Regions from separate parts of the Homo sapiens genome. Here regions 1, 3 and 4 are each linked to region 2. Evidence: promoter capture Hi-C in 16 types of primary human blood cells and fetal thymus (Javierre and others, 2016). All regions are on one chromosome and are shown on one strand. The core of a region is centred on a gene start or on the middle of the fragment in contact, and the rest is flanking DNA. Distances in the headings are between cores, read along the strand shown. Region 1 has its middle 18 kb from the start of THADA. Region 2 holds the start of HAAO (3-hydroxyanthranilate 3,4-dioxygenase). Region 3 overlaps THADA (THADA armadillo repeat containing). Region 4 overlaps THADA (THADA armadillo repeat containing).

The links. Contacts are between HindIII fragments. The CHiCAGO score rates a contact against its expected background, and 5 or more counts as called.
Region 1: a contact is called between a fragment that was not itself captured here and the fragment with the promoter of HAAO in region 2, in 2 of 17 cell types (naive B cells and total B cells). The highest score is 8.6, in naive B cells.
Region 3: a contact is called between a fragment that was not itself captured here and the fragment with the promoter of HAAO in region 2, in 5 of 17 cell types (total B cells, naive B cells, fetal thymus and 2 more). The highest score is 8.5, in total B cells.
Region 4: a contact is called between a fragment that was not itself captured here and the fragment with the promoter of HAAO in region 2, in 1 of 17 cell types (monocytes). The highest score is 10.1, in monocytes.

What each region holds. Positions count from the first base shown.
Region 1 is chr2:43,611,017-43,616,308 of GRCh38, forward strand. No RefSeq gene overlaps it. Among named protein-coding and RNA genes, the nearest start is that of THADA, 18 kb to the left of the region's middle. The HindIII fragment of the contact is 9,006 bases long and covers 1-5,292 here.
Region 2 is chr2:42,789,269-42,794,743 of GRCh38, forward strand. It overlaps HAAO (3-hydroxyanthranilate 3,4-dioxygenase), which reads right to left and starts at 3,315. Exons shown (of 10, transcript NM_012205.3): 1 at 3,189-3,315. The coding sequence starts at 3,268. RefSeq lists silencers at 3,162-3,601, 3,782-3,881, 3,962-4,051. The HindIII fragment of the contact is 4,290 bases long and covers 3,089-5,475 here.
Region 3 is chr2:43,538,110-43,543,167 of GRCh38, forward strand. It overlaps THADA (THADA armadillo repeat containing), which reads right to left. Exons shown (of 38, transcript NM_022065.5): 21 at 3,050-3,207. Among named protein-coding and RNA genes, the nearest start is that of THADA, 55 kb to the right of the region's middle. The HindIII fragment of the contact is 1,448 bases long and covers 1,824-3,271 here.
Region 4 is chr2:43,571,478-43,577,247 of GRCh38, forward strand. THADA (THADA armadillo repeat containing) reads right to left here. Exons shown (of 38, transcript NM_022065.5): 10 at 5,545-5,765; 11 at 2,859-3,550; 12 at 1,337-1,515; 13 at 230-385. Among named protein-coding and RNA genes, the nearest start is that of THADA, 22 kb to the right of the region's middle. The HindIII fragment of the contact is 2,843 bases long and covers 64-2,906 here.

The DNA of each region.
Region 1 (5,292 bases), core at 1,051-3,550, 820 kb after region 2:
GGTCTCCCAAAGTGCTAGGATGGCAGGTATGAGCCATTGCGTCTGGCCCTTGCCTTTTATTAATGGCAGTAAAGAAAGCTGAAAACATTTGGTATGAAAACTGAATTTACCCTCTGCTGATATAAAAACTGAAAAAGAAGAAAAAACCATCTGGAAACAATTCTAGATAAACACCTATGAAACTTAACCAAAGCAGTGGGAGAGTACCTTGGCATTCATCCCCAGTGGAATGTGGCTCCCTTCAGTGCTACCTAAGAATAGGTGATGGGGCTTTCCCTCTATCCTGGGGCCTACACCTGTTCTGAGCTGTTGGGAAGGAGGTCTGCCCATAGGTAGGTGTCATTCCTGGGGAATATTCTATCTGCTGATCTTGTATTGATCTCCCCAGATACAGCACCTTGGAAAAATCAGGAAAGTCAGCTCCTTGGTACCTGCTTAGGTGGAGCCTGGGGAGGTTTTGGTGCTGATTCTGCATGTGGCCACATGATGCACCCCAACCCAATTCTGTTGTCCCAGATGTTTCTTTCTCTACATCCTTTTTGTTTTTCTTCTTCCCACACCTGTAGAATCTTTATTTCCTCGCAGGGAAAAGGGAAAAGTACTTGGATCCTTGCCTGTTGTCCCTAGCCTGTTACTTATAGCATGACAATCAACTCCATCCTATGAGCTCGTTAGGCTTAAATATTTGAAATGTACAGAACTATTTCTCCACCATGAGTTTCAGAAAAATCATTTGGGGACTTAAAAAGCCTAAAATTGCCTTTCTTGTCTCCTGGTTTTGCTGTGGCATCCATTCTCTAAGGCAGCGGGAATAGAATTGTCCAGAGGCGTTGGGCGGGGCAGAGGTTCACAATAGAGGTACCTGTTGACAATTCTAAAATCTCTCTCCTCAGAACTTCAAGATGCTTGCCCTGAAGCAAACGCCTCCATTTGATGTCCAGCCTCAAACTCCTATCTCTTTTTGCCTCACTTCTTTCTTTACCTTTTCTTTTCTTTTCTTTTTCTTTTTCTTTTTCTTTTTTTTTTTTTTTTTTTTTTGAGACAGATGCTCGCTCTGTCGCCAGGCTGGAGTGCAGTGGCATGATCTCGGCTCACTGCAACCTCCACCTCCTGGGTTCAAGCAGATTCTCCTGCCTCAGCCTCCCAAGTAGCTGGCACTACAGGCCCACGCCACCACGCCCAGATAATTTTTGTATTTTCAGTAGAGACGGGGTTTCACCATGTTGGCCAGGACGGCCTTGATCTCTTGACCTCATGATCCACCCACCTCAGCCTTGTAAAGTGCTGGGATTACAGGCGTGAGCCACTGCGCCCGGCCTTGCCTCACTTCTTTCTGCCTCTTTCCTCCTCCTGAATTTGCTATACTAACTTATGCCCTAAACAAGCAAAAATTCTGTAAGTCTTTTTCTCTTAAACTCCACTTCCTCCTAGCTGATTAATCATTGAGTTCTAGATAGTTCCATATTTGCTATTACTGCCCCATTCTGAGACACTGTTAACAACCTGCTTTCCCTATAGATTGGAATTTATCAATCTCAGCACTGTTGACATTTTGGATGGCATAACTCCTTGTTGTGGGGGACTGTCCCATGCATTGTAGGGTTTTTAGCAGCACCCCGACCACTCCCCACTAGATGGCAGTAGCATCACCAAGTTGTGACGATCAAAAAATGTCTCTAGCCCTGTACTGTGCTAAGTCACATTGGAGCCTGAGGCAAAAGAAAAAAATGTGTGCCCTACGTACACTTACCAAAATGTCACCTCATAAGTTAATAAAAGTTCTACAACAATAAAAAGACAGTATTTACACTATGCTGGAATAAAACTTGAAGGGAGGAAAAAAAGACCCCCCAAAACAATTTGACGGAAACTTTGAGGGCCCAGTGCAAAACGAAAATGCAGGTCCTCTTCTTCAAAACTTATTAAGAACTTCAAAACAGTGACAGCAGAGCATTAAACCAAGCATGGAGCCCTTCTAAGTATGGAGGGTCCGGTGCTGCATGGCTCTCAACAGCTGGCCCTGACCCGTGTCACCCCATCTGTCCACTCGCCTTTGTCAATCCCCATAAATCTGCCTGATGGGGAATGTGACAGCCATGTGGACTTTGGGAACCCCAAGCTGATGGAAAACAACTGTCCCCATTGCACAATAACGCGGGGTCTAAAAACAAACAGCCTGCCTTTATTTAGAATTTTGGGTCGGGTGCAGTGGTGTCTGTAATCCCAGCACTTTGGGAGGCCACGGTGGGAGGACTGCTTGAGGCTAGGAATTTGAAAAGAGCCTGGTATTGTATTAAAATGTTACTTCTTTTGATTACTGAGGATTTTGGAGCTTTTTAAATTTTGCACCTTGCTGTCTTCACCCTAATCTAAGCCCTGTTCCAGATACTGTCAAGTTTTTCCTGCTGATTTAGAGTAGTGGTCTCCAAACTTTGATCTATATCAGAATCACCTGCAGGTCTTGTTAAAACACTTACGGCTGGGCCCTGCTTCCAGAGTTTCTGATTCAATAGGTCTGGGATGGGGCTCGAGAATTTGCATTTCTAACAAGTTCCAGGAGATGCTAAAGCTGCTAGTCCACGCACATTGAGAACCACTACTTTAGAGCCATCCTTCATGTTGTGCCAGTGCAAATGTTTTTTCCAAAATCCAAGGGACTTCTCTGCTTAAATCTCTTCAGCGGGTCCCTATGGCCTATAGAATACAGTAGCTGCTTCTTGGGGGAATACATTACCCTTATGGGCTACCTTTCCCACCTCCGCTCGTGACCTGCACATAATACTCTAGTAATGTGGGCCTGGCTGACTCATACACATCTTTTAAGACTCAAATCAGCTGTTATTGCCTCTAGAAACCTTTCTTAACCCCTAGATTGTGCTAAATGCCTGTTATTGTCCTCTGATAGCACACTGTATCTACCTCTTTGTTAACATTTACAATTTTGTATGGAATGATCTGTTTGTATGAATGTCTACCCCATCAGATGGCAGGATCCTGGAGGGCCGGTACTATCTTTATTCCTCTAGTTCCTGTTATAGTGTCTGGCAAACAAGTGCCCCAGTAGCATTTTATAAACTGACCTCAATGGGCCTGAATGCCATTCTGTAGTCTTGCAAAAATGCAGAGAAAAAGAATACCAGCTTGAGCGAGAGTTAGAGATGTAAGTGCATAGGGGTAACAGATGATACACCTGATACCTCAAGAGCCTTGAGGTTTGAGGGCCTGGCAGACTATTTTTCAATTGTCTATAAGAGTATAATTCTTGGCCAGGCATGGTGGCTCACAACTGTAATCCTAGCACTTTGGGAGGCTGAGGCGGGTGGATCACTTGAGGCCAGGACTTTGAGACAAGCCTGGGCAACATAGGGGGACCCTGTCTCTACAAAAAATAATACGAAATATTATTTTTTGTATTATTGTATTAATACAATAATACAAAATACAATAATAATACAAAAAATTAGCCAGGCCTGGTGGTGCATGCTACTCGAGAGGCTGAGGCAGGAGGATTGCTTGAACCCAGGAGGTCAAGGTTGCAGTGAGCCAAGATCGCACCACTGCACTGCAGCCCGAGCAAGACTCTGACTCTTAAAAAAAAAAAAAGTTTAATTCTTTTTTATGCAGAATTAGCCCTTAGTATGTTCTACGTGACCTCTGGATCCTATTGGTAGCAATATCCATGTAAGGTGTGAAAGAAAGCTAAGAGGCCAGGTGCAGTGGCTCAAGCCTGTAATCCCAGCACTTTGGGAGGCCGAGGTGGGCGGATCACAAGGTCAGGAGATTGAGACCATCCTGGCTAACACGGTGAAACCCAGTCTCTACTAAAAATACAAAAATTTAGCCAGGCGTGGTGCGGGGCACCTGTAATCCCAGCTATTTGGGAGGCTGAGGCAGGAGAATGGCGTGAACCCAGGTGGCGGAGGTTGCAGTGAGCCGAGATCGCACCACTGCACTCCAGCCTGGGTGACGGAGCAAGATTCTGTCTCAAAAAAAAAAAAAAAAAAGAGAGAGAGAGAGAGAGAAGAGCTAAGAGCTGAGAAAGAAATCTTGAAGCATTGGCTAGAGCAGATAAGAAATGCGGTCCTGAAGAAAGAGCAACAATGTTAGGCTGGTGTGAAAGTAATTGCGGATTTGCCATTAATTTTAATAGCAAATAATAGGATGATCTAGGGTGACACAGGTAAGAAAAAAGGAGACCAAGAGGAAAAAAATCATTAGATGCAGAGGAAAAGTTAATTTTTTTTTCAAATAAAAGGTATTTTTTTTCCCTTAAGGAAACAAAAAAGAAAGATTTGTAAGTAAAATTCTTCAATAATATCTATTATATTAAACAAATTTCAAGAAATCAGTTGGTTTTCTTGCTTTAAAATAAGTTCAGGGAGGCTGGGCACAGTGGCTCATACCTGTAATCCCAGCACTTTGGGAGGCCGAGGCAGGTGGATCACGAAGTCAGGAGTTCAAGACAAGCCTGACCAATACAGTGAAGCCCTGTCCCTACTAAAAATACAAAAATTAGCCAGGCACGGTAGCAGGCACCTGTAATCCCAGCTACTCGGGAGGCTGAGGCAGGAGAATCGCTTGAACCAGGGTGGCAGAGGTTACAGTGAGCTGAGATCATACAAGTGCACTCCAGCCTGGGTGACAGATTCTGTCTCAAAAAAAAAAAAGAAAAAATTTCAAAGAATTGTTTATTTATTTATTTTTGGAGACAGAGTCTCACTCTGTCATCCAGGTGGGAGTGCAGTGGTGCCGTCTTGGCTTGCTACAGCCTCAACCTCCCAGGCTCAAGTGATCCTCCCGCTTCAGCCCCCCAAATCACTGGGACCACAGGTGTGTGCCACCACAGCCGGCTAATTTTTGTATCTTTTGTAGAGATGGGGTTTCATCACCGTGCCTAAGCTGGTCTGGAACTCCTGAGCTCAAGCAATCCTCCTGCCTCAGCCTCCCGAAGTGCTGGGATGGGGTGAGCCACCGTGCCCAGACGAATTATTTTATAACATAAAAGAATAACACTAAACTTCCAAGTGTAGGGGCTACCATATGAATCAGTTTAAGTATGATTTGTTTGAATAGGCAGCTCCTGATGTCATGGAGGAGGGATGGGAAAAATGAAATTCATAGGAGAGAGTGATCTGCAATCTGCCATGGAAAATGTTAGATGTTTTATGGGATAAAGTAAACCAAAATTCTGGCATGAAAGTCTTGCCCATCAAACTTAAAGGAAGCTACATGGCAATAGCTTCAGATGCCAATAGTATCTCTGAGAAAAATTTATTTTTAGTATATTTCCAG
Region 2 (5,475 bases), core at 2,065-4,564:
ATTTAAGTATTTGATAAAATAAATAAACCCGGCCGGGCGTGGTGGCTCATGCCTGTAATCCCAGCACTTTGAGAGGCAGAGGCGGATGTATTGCTTGAGGCCACTAGCCTGGCCAACATGGTGAAACCCTGTCTCTACTAAAAATACAAAAATTAGCCAGGCCTGGTGGTGGGCACCTGTAATCCCAGCTACCTGGGAGGCTGAAGCACGAGAATCGCTTGAACCTGAGAGGTGAGGTTGCAGTGAGCTGAGATTGCGCTACTGCACTCCAGCCTGGGTAACAGGGGGAGACTCTGTCTTAAATAAATAAATAAATAAATAAACTCAATACAACCCTCTCATTTTACAGCCGATTTAGCCAGCCAAGAGAGGGTCACAAAGCCAGGGAATGACTGAACCTGAGCCAGGTCTCAGGCTCCTTGACTCCCACGCTGGCGTTGGGTCTGTGGGGCATCTAGTCAGCTGTTTGGAACAAAAGGGTTCCCAAACTCCTCAGTCTTTCTGCTGTTGGTGTGGTGTTACCTTTTTATGCAAAAAATACCTCAGCACCTCCTGAGAACAGCCTGCCCCATCCCCACAGCAGGGTCCCCTTTCAGGGTGCAGACACTGGGGTGAATAAGCAGCAGAATGTGTCTGTGTAGGGCTTCAGGGTGTTCTCAGGTGGCCCTGCCACAGAGGGCAGGGGCAAGGGCTTTCCTCTGGGAAGGGGAGGCGCTGGGTCTGGGACCATTTGTACACACAGGGCACAGCAGCCTAGAGGCTGCCTGCATGGATGACGATGGTGTGGATGGCAGGGGAGGGGCTATGGGGGAGGTCTGAGCCCCCAAACTAGACTGGCAGGTCCTTTCTGAGTGTCCTGTCCTGTGGGCTGCTTTCCAGCCCAGCTGGGAGGCATGGAGGCAAGACGGAAGAGCCAGTCTCTTTCCTTTTCCTTCCCTTTTGGGAGGCTGGGCCCAATAAACCGGAAACACACGTGTGGACCTGATGTTTGGAAAGGTGGATGAGGTTGCAGGGCAGGAGAAGGCTGTCATGAACAGTCCATGCTTAAAGAACTTAAAGCTGCATAGAGCTTCAAGGAGGGGAGGGAAGCCGCAAGGAACTTGACTGGGGAAGAGTGTGCACAGGAGAGCTGGGTGCAGAGGCTCTGAGATTAGAAGCACTGGGGGTGAGCTTGGGGAACGATTGAGAAGGCTGGTCCAGGAGGGTGGACCAGCCATGGAGTCTGGTCTTGGCCTAAGGGGTGCTGGGGAACCTGGAAAGTTTGTTTTTTTTTTTTTTTTTTCAGATAGAGTCTTGCTTGCCACCCAGGCTGGAATGCAGTGGCACAACTTCGGCTCAGTGCAGCCTCCACCTCCCGGGTTCAAGCAATTCTCCTGCCTCGGCCTCCTGAGTAGCTGGGACTACAGGCGCGTGCCACCACGCCCAGGTAATTTTTGTATTTTTAGCAGAGACGGGGTTTCACCATGTTGGCCAGTCTGGTCTTGAACTCCTGACCCCAAATGATCCACCCACCTCAGCCTCCCAAAGTGCTGGGATTACAGGCATGAGCCACTGCGCCCGGCTTGAAAGTTGTTTTTTAAAATCAACTTCACTGAGATGTAATTTAGGTACATACAGACAATTCTTAAACAACTCCACTCAAGAATTCTTTCAACCCATCAGTCAGAATGCATAAACCAGACCTGCCCCTCCTCTGCCCAGAACTCTTCAGCAGCTTCTCACCTTGCTTGCTTCAGCAGCTTCTCACCTTGCTGAATAGTAACCCCTCCTGTAAAATTTATATGTTGAAGTCCTAACGCCCAGTACTGCAGAATGTGACCTTATTTGGAATAGGGTCCTTGAGATGTAGTTAGGTTAGGATGAGGTCATCCTGGAGTAGGGTGAGCCCCTGATCCAATATGTCTGGTGTTCTTTTAAAAGAGGGAAATTTGGACACAGACACACACACAAGGAGACTGCCTTGTGAAGACGAAGGTGGAGGTGGGCGTGGTACAGCAGAAGCAAGAATACCAATGATGCCAGCAAACCACCAAATGCTAGGGAGAGGCCCGGGCAGATGGACGCGAGACCTCAGGGGGAGCGAAGGGAGGACTGAGAAGGAGCGACTGCAGATGGGGATGAAGTGTTGGAAGGAGGCAAAGATGATGCTACATCTTTAATTGGGGGTGGGCAACAACAGTGATAGAAGAGATCTTTGGGGAGATATTGACTGTTGGCCATGTGGTATTGCATGGTAACCAAGAGTGTGCGTGGACTCTGGAGTCGAACTGCTCCGTGGGTTGAGTCTGGAGCCTATCGCACAGGCGCTCCGTGACACTAGAAAAGTTACTTATGAAAATCCCCCCTCACGGTGCTACTGTGAGAATGAGATGAGATGATGTAAAAACACTTGGCATAGTCCTGGGCCTGCTGTTTGCCTTGAGGTGCCACCCTACTGACCATGTCCTGTGGACACAGCAAAAATGGGGAATGTAAACCTTGATCTAGCTGGCATGTGGGGCCCCGCCATGGAACTGGGGGGATGAGGGAGGTGACCATACCACAGGGGAGGGCCTGAGAGGTCTGCCTGAGAAAGATGGCAGCTGGATGGCCAACCCTGTTGGGTGCTGCAGGCAGAGGCTACTGGCAGAGGTGGCCTAGGGAGGGTCTGGTGTGGTGTGTGTGTGTGTGTGTTCGTGCACACCTGCATAGAGGGGCCCTGAAAAAAGCAAGACATCAAGATCTTCCCAAAGGAGCGGATTCTCTGCCTCCCCCTTTGCCTGTGGCTTCTGGGACAGGGTTGGGGTGTATGATTTGGCTGCCCCCAGGCCTACATTCTAGTGCATTTCTGCCTTGAAAACCACCCTCCCCACACTTTTGAGTTTTCCCAAAATGCACAGTGTCACTTGGGGTTGGAGAATTGTTTCTCAGCCCTGGAAGGAGAGGTGCACCCTGTCATGTCATCTCCTACAGCCTGAGAACCAGCTCAGCCTTCTTCAGAAGTCAAGGCCACAGTCACAAGAAAGAGGAACAGACCGATGTGGTGGAACCGGAACAGCCTGTCTCCATCTTCCCCCAAGAACCAAGAGATTAAAGCGGTCCTTCTGCAAGCTTCTGGGTCCAGGAACTCGGAGCTGGAAGGTGAGGGCGCAGATGGAGGAGGGGGAGGAGGCGAGGGCAGGGGGCGGCCATGGGGGTGCTGGACTCACATGAGCTTGTTGCAGACCGGGGGCTGGAAGGAGCCCCGGTTCTCCTTCACCCAGGCCCTCACTCCCAGGCGGCGCTCCATGACTGTCCCGGGCGCCTCCTCGCAGCGCTGTCCTCCCGCCGTCGGAGGCCCGCAGCTCCGCCCAGCCGCCTTTTTAACCAGAATCCCAAGCTCACGAGGCGGAGCAAACCCCCGCGACCCCGTGGTGGGGGCTTGGGGCCCGCGGACTTTGCCCCCTGGTGGACTTTGGTCTGAGCCCGCCGCCCTCCGCGCCACTCCAGGCCCTGGCGAGCGCGGCGGCGGCAGCGCTGGGGAACGGCGTCCCGCGCCCTCTGCTTCTCCGCGGGGCAGGGGCTCGGTCCCCGCCACCGTCTCCGGGGCGCCCCACACACTGGCGCCTGCGGTGGGGCCTGCTCCCGGCGGAGGACAAAGAATCCAGACCCTTCCTGGACGCTTGTCCCCAGACGTTCCTTCCCTCTACGCCCCGAGGGGAATCCCAGGGAAGGTTCCCAGAAATACTACAGTGAGGAGATCGCGGGTTGGAAGTCCCAGCACCTGAGAACACGGTGCTGGCGCTGGGCTCAAGATTTGGCTTTCCCATCTGGAAAAGGGGAATGACTGCCCCGCCACTCAGGGCTGCGGCGCTCACCCAGCGGGAAGCCGCACGGCGGTCCCCGCAGGTCCCGATTCAAGGTGAGCCCCAGACCTGCTGCGTGCGGCCGGCAGACTCCGCCGCGGGCTCGGCGAGGGGAGCGGTGCAGGCGCCGAGCTGCGGAGCCCGGGCTCAGGGCAGGACCGCGAGCCCTCCCCACCTGAGGCCCAGCCGAGCGGCCGCTGTCCGCGCAGTGTCGCAGTGGACCCCGAGCCCCGTGCTGAACTCCTTAGGCGTCTTAGGAACATACTCAGTTCGCACGCAGCTATGGGAGGAATTTGGCAGATGTGGACACCGGCCTCAGTGTCCTAGCCCTCGGGAATCTCGGGGTGTTAATGATGACAGCCCCGTGTGAGAGACTCTAACAGTTATCCTGGGGGTGAGGGGCTGGGGCGCTGGGCCTGGGCGTGCATGTGTGAGGAAAGAGAAATCTGCGCGGGTGTGGAAGATGGAGAAGCCTGTCTTTCTGCAGGACTCAGAACTTTCTTAGGAAGTTTGGAGGGAGTGGGAGCTGACGGGTAGGGGAGGAGGAAAATGGCTCAGGCCCCTGACACCGGAATCCAGACTATAGAGTTTAAGAAACTAAACGCCTCTAAATCCTGCCCTCACAGCCCGCCTGGCCTGGGCTGGTTTTCTCAGCATTCCAGACATAAAGACTCCTCTAGTACAACTCAAAATCAAAACCCAGACGACAGGAAGCCGAATTCCCCACTGAGACCCTCCCGTTTCCTCTCTGACGCTCTTTTTTTTTTTTTCATTTTTCTCTCTCCTTTTTTTTAGTTATTTATCTAGCACAGTTTTAGCTGAGCACTTCTAGTGCAAAACTAGAATATCGTTTTGCACCCAAGTAACTCACACCACCTTCTTTATTTTTCTCATCTACAAGTAATCAGAGGAGACGTAAACAATGACACATGAAGCACTGAGGATCTGAGATGTGTTAAGTTTGCTTTGAGTGTTAGTTAAATGGAGGGATGGGTGAGTGGGTGGATGAAGGCATCAATGAATTCACACAAAAAGGAGAAAAAATTGATTTCAGCCCAACAGATGTTCCGTTACCATAGTGCAAAGGAAAGAATGATAGGTACTCTGTATTTTAACTGATGTGATCAAATAATGTGAATAATTAAGGCCACAAGTAGAATTTTGGGGGTCTGAAATATCCCGAGTAACCCTCTACACAAGCTAAATGACTGCTATGTTATCACTATCAAATATGCCCTCTGATTTGTGCTGTGTAGAGCAAATACCACGTCTGGTCTACTGAATTGGCAAGCCTCCTGGCTCAGGCACCACTGGACTCCAATGTTCAGAAAACGGACAGTTGCTATGTTGTGAGTATTCTGGCATTGTTGAGTTGGAACCATCTGGAATCCTTCTGGATACTGACTGTTGGGCCCCTTGTAGTTTCTGGAATTTACCCGCTTCTAGGAGCCACCTCTCTCCTCTGCACACAGGAGCTCATCTGCACTAAAGGATTAGAAGCAAATAGAATCTACCCCACGATCCAAGCTCAAAGGATCTGGCCTGCTTGCTGGTGTCTTCCCCTGGCCTCCGCTGGGTGGTGTTTGCCTGCCCAGGTCACTGAGACCAGCAGATCCTTCTAGGCTTTGCTGAACCTGGCTGGTAATAACTA
Region 3 (5,058 bases), core at 1,298-3,797, 750 kb after region 2:
AACTTAAGTTCATATAGTACTCCAGGTGGAGGAAGCTGTTTTAAAAAATCAGTAGGCACTGGGTATCAGATAGCCCATGAAAAGAGAACCAACAAAATATAACAAGCAAAAGCTCTACATCAGCAAAACATCAAGTTTGAAAACTCCACACACATCAACTAGTCAGGAAGTTGTGAGATAAGGTTGTGTGTACTGCTTACTCTTGAAGGGTCTCCACTTACATCCCTCAAAGTTGGTTTTATCTCTGCCTCTTGTACAGGAACACTATGAAAGAACCTTTCATTATGTGATTACAGTGAAGGAGGAAAGTCAGACATGCCTCTGAATGAACACATTTTCCTCCTGGAGAAACTGGTGACAGCACACTGCTTCACAGGAAGTGCTCTAGGGAATCAATCATTTAAGAAAAAGTTCAGTAGCAAGTCATCTTACTGTCCTGTTGCTTGCGAAAATTTACCTGGATATGGGAAATACAGAAAATTAAACTTAAAGAAAAATTAAATGAGCAGCTCACAAAGGCAGCACTGTGCCATGTCAGAACACAGGCTGGCAAGGAGAAGAACTGGGTTCCTGTTCCAGAGCTGCCACAAACTAGCTTTGCAATCTTGGGCAAACCAGGTAACATCCAGGGTTCAGCTTCCTCTTGTCCAAGAGAGCTGGATAATATCATCTCTATGATCCTTCCAGCTCTAATGGTTTGTGAATATATCACTGAAAACTCAGAATTATAAACAAGCCCCATTTCTTCTCCCCACACAGCAACAAAAAACCCCAAACTGTAATCTCCCTACCTTTTATACTCCTATATGGGGGATTTAAGTGGCCACCGGTTTAAACAAGGAGCTGTAAAATCAGGATGATTTTAAACGGACTGTCATCTACATTCAAGTCATCAAATTTCAAAATAGAATAGAATTGTATTTTAGACTGTATGGAATGGCTTTCTTCATCCATTGAGAGAAAAGTAGATCACAGTTACTACTCTGAAGAATAAGAAATGCAAGTTCCACATTCTCCCCTCTAACTAGGGTTGCATTCTGCCTGCAAGTCACTTCACTGCCTCCGTGTATTCAGACGGCAGTCACATTCACCTAAGGCTTGACTCTTAAACTCATAGTTTTACCACTAGGCACAGATCTAGCTTTGCCAGGGCAACTATGCTCTTGGAAGGGTGTACCTCAGGTGTGGCCCAGCCATTCCAATGTAAATGATGTTCTTCTCTGTCATTTATATTTTTAACTCTTAAAGGTTTTAAGCACATGTAAGTATATTTAATTATTATTAATTTAAAGGAAGTTCATGGGGCAAAAGGTTATGTTTAAAAGCAGGAATTCTCCAGTAATGTAAATAACACTAATTTCTTGATGACTTTGGATTTTTATTGACTCCTAAACTGAGACATTTCTTTAGCTAAAGTCAGCAATACGAAGAATCAAGTTTTTCATAGGGGACGGGGTTCCAGTGTTAGAACACTGCTATTACATATACAGTTCATCGCTCATTCAGTCATCAGTTTCTTCTCACGCCTATGTATGTGAGGTTACCATGTGAATGGCAACATAGAAAAATGACTGGACCTCATTACAACGGAAACTAATGTTTTACAGAAAAACAGTCAGGATCTTATTTTTTATTTAAGCAGTCACTGGAAGAATTCTTTGGTTTATAAGAACCTGTCTTTTTGTGATAATTGTTTTTTTTTTTAACAAACATCTCTTATTTTACATTAATTCCCAATTTTAACACGGCTGTCGCACACAAATTAAATACATAAGATTTGGGTGCTATGTGAAAAGTGTCAAGGCAAAATAATGTTCATAGGAAGCTTTCACGTCTTAGTTACAGTAAAAGCAAAATACACTTCCCTTAATTTGTTTTTTAAACACTACCCAACAAACCCAAAAAACTAAATGTTTTAACTTGTCCTTGGAAAGAGAAGTTGGGAAATCAAAGGCCTCTAGCACATGTTTACTTCTTAGCAAGATGGTGAACATCAGTGAAGTAATCATTAATCATAGCTGGATTCCTCAGCAAAGATGTTGGCATTGGCACTACAGCCAGTCACCAGCAATGACTGCAAGTAACTCTAGGACACTGACGCCTATTTGATTTGGAAGAGAATAAGGAACATAATGATGCCTGAAATGTCCTGTGCGCCTTTGCCTTTCTTCATCTCAAGGCCTTGCAACATCACAAGCGCAGCTGTTAACCAGATGCATGCAACATAAGCCACAGAGTGTGAGAAAAAAAGTATTAGCATTATTTCCATGGAACTAGTCATGTGGTTATTATAGAAATAATCAGCATTAGCATACTACAATATTTGTTTTGTTCTTGAATTGTAACACCCTAGGGAAAAAGTTGCCTTTATTTTTAAAAAGTTAAAAATGAAAGTACATGTTATATATCTTTGCTGAAAAATGGTGGGAAATGGATTTGTCAAAACCATATGGAAAGGAAGAGGGAATCAATTAAAAACAGAAATCTAATAAATCTAAAATATTTCCAAATGAAATGCTTGTGGTAAGCTAACTTCTTGTAAACACCGCACTCAAGTCACTTGAACAGTCCCAGATGGTGAACTAACTTTGTGGTCTTAAAACAAAAGTCAGCCAAAAAAACCAAGACTACAACTTTATTATCAATGCAGTGGGAAACATGAGATCCATAATCAACCAACATGTTACTTTTTTTCTTTCCAAAATTTAAGAGATTTGTGGAGTTTTACTAAATAAGACAATTTTAAGCTAAAGTTTAAGTCTGTGTATGTGAAATGGAGAAATAAAAATTAGAGATAAAACTACAGTTAAAAGTGAGGTAAAATCTACAGTTATTTATATACCTTAGAAAAAATTTCTAAAAATGCCACAGTTTTGAAATGTATTATAAAGTCTAACATTCTAAATTACCATGAACTTTCTTCAGTTAACATTTGTATGATTTTATTCAAGAAAAATTTTAAACCTTTTTTTAGAGTTGGGTTATAAAAAAAAAAGTGATTTATGCGTTGACCAGAAATTATACATGGTGGAATAAACATGTGCCTTACCTGCTCCACCGTCAATAATCCATCAGAAGATTCTGGCACAGGCTGCATGGGCAGAAGCTGGCACAACATGCCTAAAAGTAAAGCAACTTCCTTCATACTTCTCCAACAACATACCAGCACCATCTGCGCAGTTACATCACATGTTTTTACTTCTTTACCTTAAACAAAAAAAAACACAACGATTGCAACCTTGATTACTCATATCCCAGGTTTCTAAAAACAAGCTTATTCATAATTTCCCCAAGAATAATCTGCTTGAACAAACCCGATTTGTCATGTTATATTTACTCAGAAGGAAAGAAGCTAACATTTGTCGAGCATGTGTTATGAGAAGAAATCATGCTAAGTTTTTTTTTTTTTCTTTTTTGGAGACAGGGTCTCGCTCTGTCACCCAGGCTGGGGTGCAGTAGCATGCTCATGGCTCACTGCAGCCTTGACCTCCCAGGCTCATGCAATCCTTCTACTTCAGCCTCCCTAGTAGCTGGGACTACAGGTATGCGCCACCACACCCAGTTAATTTTTGTATTTTTTTGTAAAGACAGGGTTTCACCACATCACCTCCTGGACTAAAGCAATTCTCTCGCTTGGGCCTCCCAAAGTGCTGGGATTATAGACATGAGCCACCATGCCAGGCCCAGTATTTTAATTTATTATTTTCAAATTAAATTTTAAAATAAAACACAATATTGTTCCAAAACTTGTTTAATCTTTAATTTCCAAAGATTAAACAAACTCTGCCTCTCTGTCATAAAGTATGATATGGATGACTATAATAAATACACTCCTTATTTATTTTGGTGAGCATGACTGTTGCATTAGTAAAGGAGTAGAATATAACTTTTAAAATCAAAGGAAAATACAAATTATCTTTCAAAATATATTTAATTCCCATGGCCAATAAGCTATAATTAGCCTTACTTACTCTCTTATTCTAGTTTTAGGAGTATTTTTGGTACTGATATTTTTTTAAAATCCAAGATGAACTATTATATTAAATAAAAGAGCACGCTGACAAAATGGTACTTATAGGGTAACCTCATTTGTGTTTTTATTTAAAAAGCCCAATGCATTAAATGGGTAAGTGTACATACACATAAACATATAAAATAAGTACAAAATAATATATTGCACTAAAGAAGGAAGACATGGAATTGGAGAGGAAACCTTGGAGGAATTTAATTTGTTTTTAATTCATATGTACCTCTGTTGTTTGAAACTATTACAATAGGCTATAATTACATTTATACATTATTTTGTGTAATTTAAAAATTTAAGTGTGGAGATAATTTTTTGCAAGACAATATCCCCACCTAGTGGAGAATGTAGAATATGTAATACATCACTAAGAAATTGCTGCTTCTGATGACGTTTTACAGCACTGCAGAAAATTCAGTAACAACTAATGATCAAACAAGATGTAAGAACTCGAATTCTGGAAGCTTGACACAACAAAGCAGCTCCCATTTTACTAATAAGGTTTGTTTCCTTTAAAAGCCTGCTTGACTTTAAGAACTCTCACAGCAGACAATGAACCACATTGCTGGGAGAAGTTGATTGCTGCCCAAACCCAGGTTCATTATATAGCACTGCTCTTATATCACCTGGGCTGTCAAGGCAGGTTTTATCACTCCAAGGCTTTCTGTTCTAACAGCTTGTTCGCTGCACAACAGCACCTAATAGGCTGGTGAAAGTCTTCTTTAATTTAATTTAATTTTATTATTATTATACTTTAAGTTTTAGGGTACATGTGCACAATGTGCAGGTTAGTTACATATGTATACATGTGCCATGCTGGTGTGCTGCACCCATTAACTACTCATTTAGCATTAGGTATATCTCCTAAAGCTATCCCTCCCTCCTCCCCCCTCCCCCCACCCCACAACAGTCCCCAGAGTGTGATGTTCCCCTTCCTGTGCCCATGTGTTCTCATTGTTCAATTCCCACCTATGAGTGAGAATATGTGGTGTTTCGTTTTTTGTTCTTGCGATAGTTTACTGAGAATGATGATT
Region 4 (5,770 bases), core at 235-2,734, 780 kb after region 2:
CTGAAAAAAAATGGTGGGGGGAGGGGTGCGTGCTTTTCACTCTGGATTTTAATCCCAAATGTAAGCTTTATGGAATGAGAGAACAGGTCACAGAACGGCCGTCATGAACAGATGTGGTAGCCCAATTCCATGACCATTCCCACACGCTCCCAAAATCTGGGCTCTTTTTAAAAACGATTTCCCAAACAAAGTTCACCACTTCCCTATGCCTTCTGATGGGAAATTCTACCTTTTTAAGAAGAGAACAGATCTGTTGCCGCACTCCTGGAGACTGGCTGTTAAGATTGTATGTAATAAAGAACTGAATCCACTGCATTTCTTCCATGGAAACAATTTCTGTGCTCCGATTACTTTCACAAAGCAAGCCTAATGTATCTATCCTTACCTAAAAAACATCAAGCAATAAAATGTTAATTTTCCAAGAAATAAGCAAAGCCTAAATCACTTGAATTGCTTACTTACATAGGCTACAAAAGGAAAAAAGTAAACTTCAGTTCACCAATAGGTACCTCAGAAAGGTTTCCTAATCTCAAAGATCCTAGGGTTATTTCCTATACAATTCTTTTATTAAACATGTAAATTGGGGATTTATAAAATGCAACAATCTTAAAGATTTTTATTCCGTGGTAATGCTCAGCTTCATTCCTTTTTCTTTTTTTCCAGTGACCCCTTTTACCCCATCACCTCACTCTTAAATTACTGCCAGACACTTCTAACTGGTTTCCTGGTTTCTTTCTGCTCCCACTCTGGAAACTCACGTTTCCACTAATGTAACTCCTTGCTGAAAACAGAGTAGCTTTGGTTTAGCTTAGTAAAACCAGCTGGTGCCTGGGAACCAACTAAGTCTTTAGCCTAGCATTAGGCCTTTCCAAAAAATGTCCAAAACACTCCACCCCTGATAAGCAATGTTCTTAATCATCCTCCAGACCTTGCTCATTTGGGTCCCTCCATTTTGTATGCTGCTCCAAGGCTTCCTCTTTTCTAATCATATCTATCACTTTCCTAATCAAGCACCACCTGCTCTGATCAGTCTCTTCTGAGCCTTCCAAGCGAGTCCTTATGTATTTAAGGGCACATGATGGCATGCTTGTATCTGTATTGTCAGTTCTAAGAGTTTCCAGTTGTTTTATGTAAGTTTTCTTACATCCTCAACTAAACTTTCAGTAGCTTGAAGAAAGGGCCTACTGAAAGTTTAGTTGGGAGACTAGGGTTTCTACTCATTCTCTTTATGAACTCCCTAAAACAGTTCAGGATACAATGTAGGGGCCTCTATATTGAACTGCTACATGAAAGGGATCTACTGCATGTACAAATCCAGGTAATTTTCTTTACTTACTTGGCAATGCTGATGAATTAAGCCTTGCTTTATTCTTGCATCAGACACGAGGTTCTCCCAGGTATCAGTTGCAGACTGAAGATGTCCATGAGCTCTAGCTATTCGCAGACATGCCATCAAAGCTCCCAGAGCCCCCCTGCTATTACAAGACCCTAAGGATGGGAAAGATTGCTCTTGTCCTGAAAGCACAATAACAAAGACCATTACTGTATTATGCAATGACTACTATAATTATCAGCTGCTAATTTTCATGTTTCCAATTAACATTTTATTTCAATAAATAAAAATCACATTTTAAACTCATTTCTAACACAAATTAAAGTTCCTATTCTAAAATAATCATTATTTAATATGATTTGCCCTTTTGTCAATCATTTCAAGTAAGCATAATTCTCTTATCGTTAACATAAACAAATCATTATTTACCTGCTAACATTTTTGCTTTTTCCCTAACACCTAGAAAGGGAATCAGGCAGCAAATCAGGAAATAAAATCAGGTGGAGAAATAAGCACATCAGTGGCTACAGACTATTACTTCTCTAAAAGTAAACACTGAACCTCTCTGCATATTTTAGAGTGGCTGTTTCTCACTAGTAAAGATTAAAAAAGGAACACAAAGAGCCTGCTGGTTTCAGAGGCTAGGACGTCAGCCATTACCAAGAAGACAGGGCAGCTTGATATAAAAATAAAGACAACCTTACTTCAGAACAGATTCTTGAATCCTGAATTTCAGATGGCTTTTCAAAAACTCAAGAACAAGTGTTGTCAAAAATTACAAATAATGGCTTATTTTTGCATACAGGAATCAAATTTTCCTGCTACCTCATGGTTACTCTTTGAAGTACTGAACGTTTTTAACAATTTTAGTTGAAAATATTTCTTAAAATTATGCTGTACGATACTACATTCTTGCTTTGTTAAACAGAATGTAATAATTTTAAGATTTATATGATGTGTCATGATCATCACTTTACACATCCTGAATTATGCTTGAATGCAGTGATTCCTGTAGGGTTTGTGAGTTTCAATGGGATGTTTACCCCTATTCTAAATAACTATAGATGGCTATTTCTTGAGATCATGCCTCTGAATTTTGTCACTTCCCCAGAGAAAAAAACTTGCTACTGCCAAGTTACCTGTCTTTAACCTTGCCTAACACAATTTTTAATTATTGTCTCAATGACTTGAATAAGCACATTATATAAGACACACAAACTTTTATTTCAGTGATACAATAAAATAAATTCAGAACTTGAAAAAATGAATTAAAACCTTGTAATACAGGAAAGTTTATCATTTTAAGTGGAATTATTCTTTAGCTTGTAGAAATGACTTCAGCCAAAAAACTCCATTCAGCTATATATAGGAACATTCGTTTCAAACTGAAACATCTATCATTAATCTCTTCCTTTACTATTTATAGAAGTGATATTTAAATTTGAATATGATTAGTATCTGCATAGCTACCTACATTTAAGCATCATAATTAGAAACTACTAAAACAAAAATGCATTTTTCTTACCAGTTTTAGCATCAATAGAAGTCTGAAGAATCTTTACCATGTACTGTAAGCTTTCAGGGCTGTAACTTAATAATTTTGGCAAGTAATAATCAATCACGTAAGATTTTTGATCCAAGTTTCCTTCACACAATATAAAAAGGAGAGGAGAAACCCAAGTCTCATGCCACTGGTCAATCCAAGAACTCTCAGCAGTCTGGGATTTCAAATGACTCTTATGATTTCTAAACATGGTTTCCAAGAGGTCACTTGCATAAGGTACCAATGACTGGTCTCCCATCACCTCTAAGATTTGAGATGGAATAGTTTTATCTATAGCCAAAATATGTTCAACTCCTATGCACTCTACCAAACAACCAAGGCACGTGTACTTTCCTTTAATATGCCATTCCAATCGTAAAAGACTCTCAGTCAATTCCACAAAGAAAGGATCAGGGACGAAATCTGCACCTTCCACAGTGAGCCGGTGCATTTGGAGAAGGTTTTTGAACATGATTTTGGTTTGGTGTCTCAGAGCATCCAATGGATGTTCCCAATGGGTATAGACATATTCCAAAAGTCTCCCAACTATACTTGAATTCCCATTCAGGCTGTCCGTTAGGCTCGGGGAACTTGATTCAAGGACTTGTATGGCTGAATTAGTCCAGGATGCTAAGATTCTAGACAGAAACATTTCCAGCGTTGGCTCTTTAATCCTGAAGAAAAATGAGCCATGAGCCATTATTGTAAACTGATTAGTAAAAGAAATTTCATTTTATAACAATTTAGACTTTAAAAATATTAAATACACAGAATGACCACAAATTTCAATTATTAAATTTACAAGAACAAAAAACTACAAGTAAAGCCAAAACAGATCTCAAATTTGTATATGATTCTTTTTACCTTGTAAAAAATAATCCAGAAAGCAGTTCAAGATCAGCCTAGGCAATATAGTGAAACCCCATCTCTATAAAAAATTTAAAAATTTAGCTGGGTGTGGTGACACACACCTACAGTCCCAGCTACTTGGGAAGCTGAGGTGGGAGGATTGCTTGAGCTCAGGAGTGAGACTGCAATGAGCTGTGCTCATGCCACTACACTCCAGCCTGGGTGACAAAGCGAGACTTTGTCTCAAAAATAATAATAGTCCAGGAAGGGACATAGGGAAATTTGGGGGATGATGGAAATATTCACTACCTTGACTGTGATGATTACACAAGTTATTTATTTATTTATTTATTTGAGACAGGGTCTTGCTGTCACCCAGGCTGGAGTGCAGTGGTGCGATCTCGGCTCACTGCAACCCCTGCCTCCCAGGTTCAAGCGATTCTCCTGCCTCAGCCGCCTCAGTAGCTGGGATTACAGGCGCATGCCCCCATGCCTAGATAATTTTTTGTATTTTTAGTAGAGACAGGGTTTCACCATGTTGACCAGGCTGGTCTTGAACTCCTGACCTCAAGTGATCCACCTGCCTGAGATCTGCAAGCCTGGGATTACAGGCTTGAGCCACCATGCCCGGCCTACACATGTAATTTAAAAGATAAGGAAAGCCAAGTGTTGGAGATGGTTGGGGGAATGGGGCTTCTCTGTGATAAAAATATTCTAAAGTTGTTTGAATTAACTTTTAAGATGTTAAAACTTCATTTCAGAAATGTTGATAAGGATCACTTTAGATTACCTATGTTAAAGTGCTTCATAAATTCTAAAGCACTACACATGTAGAAACTTTTATAGTTTTAAAAAATGATGCTAAAAACAAATTTCAGGAAAAAAATTTTTAAAGAAAAAATATAGCAAAGAGAATATTAAAAATTAATTTTAGAAATGCTGGTGGTTGTACAACTCTGTGAATAAACTAATAAACTGAATTGTACACTTCAAATTTATGAATTGCATAATATAGCTCAAATATGTAAAAAATTATTTTAGTTTTCCTCCTTTATTCATATGTTCAGTATTATCAAGCTGTATATATGTTTCGACATTTCATATACATGATCACTTTCAGCCATTATGGCAAAAACACCACAAAAATACAAAATACAGCCCCATGAAGTCAGAAGACCTTCTAAGATTGCTGTTTCAGGTTCTTATTAGCAATATGGTCTCAGGTAAGCATTTACTTTTCTAAGCCTCCCTTTGCCCATTCAACAAATTAGATTTCTTATCCTATATAGTAGCCATTTGAGGATCACATTAGATTACCTATGTTGAAGTTCTTTATAAATTCTAAAACACTATACATATAAAAATTTTTATAGTTTTTAAAAACGATAACATTGAAAATGTTAAAAATTAATTTTAGAAATGTTCTTTACAGGCTAACCTGCAGCAATAATTTTATTTATTTATTTTTTTAAGACAGGATCTCACTCTGTCGCCCAGGCTTGAGTGCAGTGGCACAATCATATCTCACTGCATCCTCGGCCTCCTGGGCTCAAGCAATGTTCTCACCTCAGCCTCCCACGTAGCTGAGACTACAGGCGCATGCCACCACACCCAGCTAAGTTTTAAAAGTTTTGTACAGACACAGTCTCACTATGTCACCAAGGCTGGTTTTGAACTCCTGGCCTCAAGTGATCCTCTTGCCTCAGCCTACTGGGAGGGTAGCTGGGATTAGAGGCACAAGCCACTCCAGCTTTTGGACTGCATCTTCTAAATGTCTTACAAGTGAAACAAAATATGAGACGATAGCATCAAAACTCACTGTGAACTCAAGGTGAACAAAACATGTGCAGTATCCAAGAGCAGGGCCTCCCCACTCCGACCCATGCTTCCGTTCTGCCAGTCCAACATGGCAAGTGTCCCCTGACAGAGGAATAAGACAGCTGACTGAGAGATGTCACCACAACAGAGGCTCCTGCAGCTGCTCATAAACCACTCGGGGACACTGGTGCAGTCCACTGAACGAAGCAGCACACTGCTAATCTGGA